2 separate regions of the Homo sapiens genome follow, and region 1 is linked to region 2. The links are contacts of gene promoters, found by promoter capture Hi-C in human tissues and cell types (Jung and others, 2019). All regions are on one chromosome and are shown on one strand. Each heading gives the region's core, a stretch centred on a gene start or on the middle of the fragment in contact. The rest is flanking DNA. Distances are from core to core; before and after follow the strand shown. Region 1 overlaps CRY2 (cryptochrome circadian regulator 2). Region 2 holds the start of CREB3L1 (cAMP responsive element binding protein 3 like 1).

What was found. Contacts are between HindIII fragments. The study calls those that stand out against the background at their distance.
Region 1: a contact is called between a fragment that was not itself captured here and the fragment with the promoter of CREB3L1 in region 2, in 1 of the 25 tissues and cell types used here (spleen).

What each region holds. Positions count from the first base shown.
Region 1 is chr11:45,869,394-45,873,506 of GRCh38, forward strand. CRY2 (cryptochrome circadian regulator 2) reads left to right here. Exons shown (of 12, transcript NM_021117.5): 7 at 113-424; 8 at 660-811; 9 at 937-1,139; 10 at 1,449-1,541; 11 at 2,699-2,840. The coding sequence ends at 2,838. Among named protein-coding and RNA genes, the nearest start is that of MAPK8IP1, 14 kb to the right of the region's middle. The HindIII fragment of the contact is 3,983 bases long and covers 1-3,676 here.
Region 2 is chr11:46,275,559-46,279,217 of GRCh38, forward strand. CREB3L1 (cAMP responsive element binding protein 3 like 1) reads left to right here and starts at 2,104. Exons shown (of 12, transcript NM_052854.4): 1 at 2,104-2,655. The coding sequence starts at 2,554. The HindIII fragment of the contact is 8,009 bases long and covers 1-3,659 here.

The sequences.
Region 1 (4,113 bases), core at 435-2,934, 410 kb before region 2:
CTGAGCCACTAGGTCTTTGGAGGGCCCAGATTCCTTTGTAGAAGAGACCTGAGAGGCACCATGCTAAGAGCTGGGCGAGTGTTTGTATCCATGTGCCACCCCTACCTCTCAGGTGAAGCGGAACAGCACACCTCCCCTCTCCCTATTTGGGCAACTCCTATGGCGAGAGTTCTTCTACACGGCAGCTACCAACAACCCCAGGTTTGACCGCATGGAGGGGAACCCCATCTGCATCCAGATCCCCTGGGACCGCAATCCTGAGGCCCTGGCCAAGTGGGCTGAGGGCAAGACAGGCTTCCCTTGGATTGATGCCATCATGACCCAACTGAGGCAGGAGGGCTGGATCCACCACCTGGCCCGGCATGCCGTGGCCTGCTTCCTGACCCGCGGGGACCTCTGGGTCAGCTGGGAGAGCGGGGTCCGGGTGAGTGCTCTCTCAACGAAAAGCTGGCCTGTACCCTCTGGTCAGGCCCGTCAAAGGGCAGCCCCCTTCTGGGCTGAGGGATGAGGTGGGATTTCTGGGTCCAGGAGATCCCCTCCAGATCCTCTGTGGCTTGCCTTCAATGGAAGGGTTTTGGCTCCTGGGGGCACTGTGGTGACTTGGGAAAAAACATGGCTGCATGTCCCCAAGGAGGCTGATCATCCCCTCCCCTATCTAGGTATTTGATGAGCTGCTCCTGGATGCAGATTTCAGCGTGAACGCAGGCAGCTGGATGTGGCTGTCCTGCAGTGCTTTCTTCCAGCAGTTCTTCCACTGCTACTGCCCTGTGGGCTTTGGCCGTCGCACGGACCCCAGTGGGGACTACATCAGGTGAGGATACAGACCAGGCTCTCTGGCCTCTGACCACTGTGGCCTCCTACTAGGATGGGATACCCTGGGCCTTTTGAAGGAGGGTCTGGGTATGCTGATGGGTCATCTGGTGTATCTTATTTCAGGCGATACCTGCCCAAATTGAAAGCGTTCCCCTCTCGATACATCTATGAGCCCTGGAATGCCCCAGAGTCAATTCAGAAGGCAGCCAAGTGCATCATTGGTGTGGACTACCCACGGCCCATCGTCAACCATGCCGAGACCAGCCGGCTTAACATTGAACGAATGAAGCAGATTTACCAGCAGCTTTCGCGCTACCGGGGACTCTGTAAGGAGACAAACACCTAGCTCACTGAAGGGAAGGACAGCACCTACAGGCTCAGGGGGCCAGATGGGGATGTCCAGATACTTGCAAAGGGAGACTGAGTGCTGTCTTTCAGGTTGACACCTTCGCTGGGTATGGGACACTGCAGGCTGGGATGAACTGGGCCTTCCTGAGTAGTTGTGGGGCTGTGGGAGGAAATGGAACCTCAGTGTCTTGCTCCTACCCTCCCCACCCCCACTTGCTTCATCCTGCCCTGTAGCCCTCTGCAATCCTGCGAGACGGCACTCTGATTACTCCTCGCCTCTCTCCCAGGTCTACTGGCATCTGTCCCTTCCTGTGTGGAAGACCTCAGTCACCCTGTGGCAGAGCCCAGCTCGAGCCAGGCTGGCAGCATGAGCAGTGCAGGTGAGCAGCAGCAACCAACCTCCTGTGGCCTCCTGTGGCCTGTGCCACCACTTCAGTCATTCAGGACTGAGGCCAGAAGGAGGCCTTGCCCAGTGGAGCTTATATTCCACCTGGGGCAGTCAGATAGTAAAGAAACCAAGTTGGATCATTTCAGATAACAAGTGCTTTGGAGGAAAAGAAAGTTGAGTATCTTGACAGAGGGACTGGGAAAGAAGGATTTCTTCTGTGTCACTTGAGATTGGAGCAGTCAGGGAACACCTCTGTTAAGCAGAGACCCACGTCATGAGCAGGAGCCAGCCCTGCCACACACTGAGAAAATAACATTCCAGACAAAGGGAGTAGCAAGAAAAAGCTCACAAACAGTACCGAGCTTAGTCCATTCAAGGAACCGAAGGGAGGTCAGTGTAGCGGCATGTCCCAGTGAGGAGCTGGAATGAGATGAGGACAAGATACAGCATGAGCAGCATGTGGCAGGCCTGATGTCCGAGACGAGGACTAGGATTCAGCCTTCAGTGCACTGAAGGATGGTCAGTAGGGCAGGGCATGATTGGACTTAGGTCTGAAAAAGCTCCCTGGCCTGCTGGGTGGAGATTGGACAGTGTAGGCCGGAGCGGGCACAGGGAGGCCAGAGAGGAGGCAGCACAGACAGGGTGGTGGCCGCAAGGAGAAAGACTGGACAGATTCGCTGCATTCGGAGCCTCTTCCCTTCTTGGGGATGAAGATGAGTAACATGAGATGGGAAGAACACGGGTTTTTCTAGTTGGCCCAGCTAGGCTGCCTCCATGGGCAGCATGACTCCTCCACAGGGGCCCTGCTCTTTGCTGCTTGGGGAGGCTGATTCAGGGTTGCAGAGGGAATGCCTCACCTTCAAAGCAGGACAGCAGGCAGGCCAAATCAGTCTCTGGCCACAGCCCATGCCATTTGGGGCCCAAAAGCTGGTCCTGCTACCAGCAGGCCTGCTTGGTCATGTCCTCCTTGGACATTTCCAGGCAAAGTCACTGCTGAAAGCAAGGCCGAGGGGCAGGTCTGAGGAGCAGCATGCTGGCATTCCATTGATAAGTGTGCTCCCTGTCCCCTAAAGAGCTGCTGCTGCATAGTGTGGGATCATTTTGGCTGCATGCACAGTCTGTGTGACCCTTTGACACGCTTCCCTACAGGCCCAAGACCACTACCCAGTGGCCCAGCATCCCCCAAACGCAAGCTGGAAGCAGCCGAGGAACCACCTGGTGAAGAACTCAGCAAACGGGCCCGGGTGGCAGAGTTGCCAACCCCAGAGCTGCCGAGCAAGGATGCCTGAGAGTGAGTGACAGCAGCCTAGATTCAACCTCAGGAAGGAAGTTGGGAGTGGGGGGGCCTACTGCCCTGCCAGCTGCAGGTTGAAACATAGCAAACTAGATGAAAATCTGGTGGGACCACCCAATGCTCAGCCACTAAAGCTTTACCATTTTACAGTGGCAGCCGGGTTCCATCCTGGCTTAGGGAATGAGTACTTTCTGGTTGATATCTGTGTGACCTTTACCATTGGGCCGGCTATGGTGGCTCATGTATGTAATCCCAGCACTTTGGGAGGCCAAGGTGGGAGGATCGCTTGAGGCCAGGAGTACAAGACCAACCTGGCCAAACCAACATAGTGAGACTCCATCTCTAAAAACATAATAATAATAATAATAATAATCTGGTGGGACTGCATGACTTTTAGGATTTCAGCTCAAAAATCCCACCATTCTGACTTTTATCAGAGATTTAAAAGTCAAGCCCTTTTGTATTTTTTTGCCAGCTAAGGGAAAAAGGGAGGCATGGGGGCTGAGGGGTGGCGCTTTCTACCTATTAAAATGAGTCACACTCAAGAGAAAGAAAGCTGAGACCTGCGTGTGAAGCAGCGGGGAAAAGGCGCATTGCAGGGTCTGAGGCTGCTCCAGGCCCCCTGCTTTCCGACAGGCTGTGTTCTATAGGCCAGCCAGTGGAGGGCAGCACTGACCTTGAGAAGCCTGGACAGAGGGCTGTGCTGTGTCTTACTTGGCCCAGCCCTGCCTGAGGACCAGTAGACCCAGTCTGTCATCATCTTTGCCTTTTGCGGCCTCTCCTCCCTTCTCACCCATCCTGTGGCCTCAGCTCTGCACCTCCCTGGCAGCGCTCATCTTGGAAGCCTCCTGAATGTCATCAAAACACTGGCTTCTCCTTTCCCAAGGGAGGAAGGGCCTTTTATGCCACTCTTGGGGAAATGTAAATTCCTGTCCCCTCTGAGTCATCATCTCAAGCTGTTCCTTATGCACCATGTCTTCGTCATTAGATTGGAGGGTGATTTTTCTCCATGGAGCTGATAGGTTCTTTTTATCAGATCCCTCTTACTTCAGGGCCAGGCCGCAGCCATCTGGTTTGAGTGTCTGGATTTGTGTGCTCACTGAGATGGGCATTTGATGCCTGCACCCTTCACCTTTCCTGGGCTCTTTGACATAGACATTGCTGATGGACAGATGTGTGCTATCTTGTTCCTGGGAGTACCAGCAACCTACTACTCTCTCAGTTATCTCTTAGCTCTGTGATACTAAGCAAAGTTCATCCTGTATTACAA
Region 2 (3,659 bases), core at 854-3,353:
AATGGTTTCCTGGGGTGTTCACCTGGGTAAGAATAAGGAAAGAGAGGACACTCTAATCCTACTTATCTAAAACTATATAATCTTCCCCAATCACTTAAATGGTACCTGTGTCTCTAATTACAGAGCAGGCTGGGAGGAACACAGGCACAATTTCCAGCCAACCTCAGGCGGGGGGCCACTTTTTCTCCTCCTGGGGGCCTGTAGGGACTATAGCTTAGTAGCCAGGACTCCAGACACCTGCTGCTGGAGCTCACTCACGATAGCCTGTTCACCCAGCCAGAGACCCCTCCCCTCCCCCTGAGAAGTATCAGCCACATCCCAGTGTTTGAATGGTCCCCATTTGGCCAGATGTGACGCATTTGGGGAAGACACCCATGGTCCCAGCACCCTAATTCTACCCGCCACTGTTGTGAAAGTGAATTGATTTCTTTTTGGCCCAGCCTTACTTCTCGGAGTTGCATGGCTGGTGAACTGGTCCCCAGAGCATGGGTTATAATCCTACTTTCTCAGGAGCAAATTCTACAGGAGGCCTGGGAGCTAACAGTCATGTGACAGCCTGGAAGGTCAGAACTTCACTCTCCAGAACTATGTCAACTAGATCATAAGGTGGGGAAAAGCCACGTGACTGCCTGCCTGCCAGGGAAGCAAACAACTGCTGTCTCAGCCTTGGTATGAACCCTTCTCCCACCTGGTGCTGAGAGCAATTTTGGTGACATCCATGGCTTAGCTGCAATGACATCTCTACCTCTTAAAGGCCTTTGGTTCCTGAGCTAATTAAACGTCCCAGACAGAAAGGACATGCTTAATCTTATTAATAACTTCTGGTCAGGAAACAGTGTGCCCAGCCCTCTGAGGGAGTGCCTTTCTGAACCACCTCCATTTGTTCAGGTGCTTGGCGATTGCTATCAGCCCTTTCAAGAGATTAAGTTTGTACGCAGGAGCAAGCCACTTAGGTAATGGATCCCGGGGCCCTGGGAGTGTCTGGTGACTGTGGAGTGTGCAGCCAGCCAGCACCTTGGCTCATTCAGATTCCAGAACCACTGTTTTCCAACTTCCTGCTCTTCAGAACCATTGGGGGGTAGGGAGGGACTTGACTATCGAGGAGAAGAGGGGGACTCTCCTATCTCTGGCTGTTCACCCAGCCCTTTCACACAGAGGGAAGCTGGGGACTGTCCTTGCCCTGAGGAGCCTCACAGCTCAGTGGGGTCACAGATACAAACAATGTGAGCAAATAAGGACAATACCACATTAGACTGGAAACAGTGGAGGTGAGCACATGATGCCCTGTGGGTGTATACCGTTGGTAACTGCTCCAGCCTGGGGGTTCAGGGAAGGCTTCCTGGAAGAAGAAACAGGTGAGATGAGAAATGAGAGTTACAAGCTGAAAATCGGCTGGGCATGGTGGCTCACACCTGTAATCCCAGCACTTTGGGAGGCCAAGGAGGCCGGATCACCTGAGGTTAGGAGTTCCAGAGGAGCCTGGCCAACATGGTGAAACCCCGTCCCTACTAAAAATACAAAAATTAGCTGGGCGTGGTGGGGCGCGCCTGTAATTCCAGGTGCTCAGGAGGCTGAGGCAGGAGAATCGTTTGAAACTGGGAGGCGGAGGTTGCAGTGAGCCGAGAACACACCATTGCACCCCAGCCCGGGCAAAAAGAGCGAAACTCCGTGTCAAAAAAATAGTAATAATAATAAATAAAATTTTTAAAAAGCTGAAAATCTCCCCCGTTGAGGGGAGATCTGTTGAGGGGACTGTGAAATGGAATTCCCTGACTGGGTTTCGTGCAGGCTTTAGTATAAGGCTGGAAGGATGGAAATAGCTCCCTCATCAATTTACGGGACAGTGGTTGGTGAAGCCTTAAAATGCCAATGTTCCAGGAACACTGTTATCGGTTCCAGGACTATTGTTGCTTTAAGCCCCCACCTTGAGCATTCAGAGAAGAGAGATTACTAAGACGAAGTTGCAGATGTCTCTTTAAAAAAGGAGAGAGGATTCCTCGAGCCACGCCCTCTTCTCATTAATATTAAATTATTGTGAATATTGATGTGGGGGCGTGGCGCCTTGGCCAGCTGGGCTAGCCAGCCAGGGGTTCCCGGTTTCACAGAGAGGAAAGTGACAGAAGACGTGCGGAGGGAGACGCAGAGACAGAGGAGAGGCCGGCAGCCACCCAGTCTCGGGGGAGCACTTAGCTCCCCCGCCCCGGCTCCCACCCTGTCCGGGGGGCTCCTGAAGCCCTCAGCCCCAACCCCGGGCTCCCCATGGAAGCCAGCTGTGCCCCAGGAGGAGCAGGAGGAGGTGGAGTCGGCTGAATGCCCACGGTGCGCCCGGGGCCCCTGAGCCCATCCCGCTCCTAGCCGCTGCCCTAAGGCCCCCGCGCGCCCCGCGCCCCCCACCCGGGGCCGCGCCGCCTCCGTCCGCCCCTCCCCCGGGGCTTCGCCCCGGACCTGCCCCCCGCCCGTTTGCCAGCGCTCAGGCAGGAGCTCTGGACTGGGCGCGCCGCCGCCCTGGAGTGAGGGAAGCCCAGTGGAAGGGGGTCCCGGGAGCCGGCTGCGATGGACGCCGTCTTGGAACCCTTCCCGGCCGACAGGCTGTTCCCCGGATCCAGCTTCCTGGACTTGGGGGATCTGAACGAGTCGGACTTCCTCAACAATGCGGTAAGATGAAGGGTCTCCGTTCCCGTTCCACCCCTCGGCACCCGTCCTCGCGGCGCGCCTGGGCCCCTAGAAGGACCCGACTACACATCACTGGGCAGGAGCCGGGGAGAGGGTTCAGCGCAGGGTCTCCAGGAGCGACATGTGTTTGGAGCTAAGCGCCCCTCCTGGGGGCTCAATCTTTGAATACACTGGCCTCCACCTTCTAGGGGGAAGGGGCCATCGAGGTATCGGGTCCGTCCGATCCTCGGATCTGAGCTCAAGAGACACCAATCCCGCCCTCCACCCACGTCTTCTAGCCGTCCCCAACCCACCCCAGGTTCCAGGACCAGACTGGGCGCAAAGTGGCAGCGCCCTTTCCTGCGCCTCCCTTGGGGCTTCGGTGGCTCATAGGCTGGATCTCCGCTGGGGGGCGCACCGGGGAACGTTCAGAGGGCCTGAGACCCGACCCCTCGGGGAAGCCAGGCCCAGAAATTTCAGGGTGCTACCCTGGCAGCCCCAGGGAATCAGGCCCAGAGACCCCCCACCCCAGGGAGGGACCTGAGGCTGGGGGCTGGGAAGAGGCGGTCAGGGCAACATAGGGTGATGGCTCAGGAGGAGGGAGCCATTTCTCTCCATCTGCCTCTAGATCTCTGCTCTGTCCCTCTGTTCCTGGAGTCTGGCTGACTTTCTCCCTCTCCCTATGTCTTCTTGACTAGGTCCGACTGTGAGCTTGTCTTTCTCCTCTTTCTCACTCTTCCCCTCCCTCCCTAAGGAAACGTGGCTTCTCTCTCTTCTTCCCTCCCTCCCTCTCTCAGGCTCAGCCCTAAGGCCTTGATGGGGGAGGGGCACGGACTTAGAATGGGAGAAAATATTTGGGTTCAGAAGGGCCTGCCCAGATGAAATGTGGATTGTTTGGGGAGTCTAGTGGGAGCCCCCTCTTCAGTGAACCACCAGTTGCGTGTGCATGCCTGTTCACACGCCACACACACACACACACCCTGTGATCAAGCACTTGAGACTCTTTA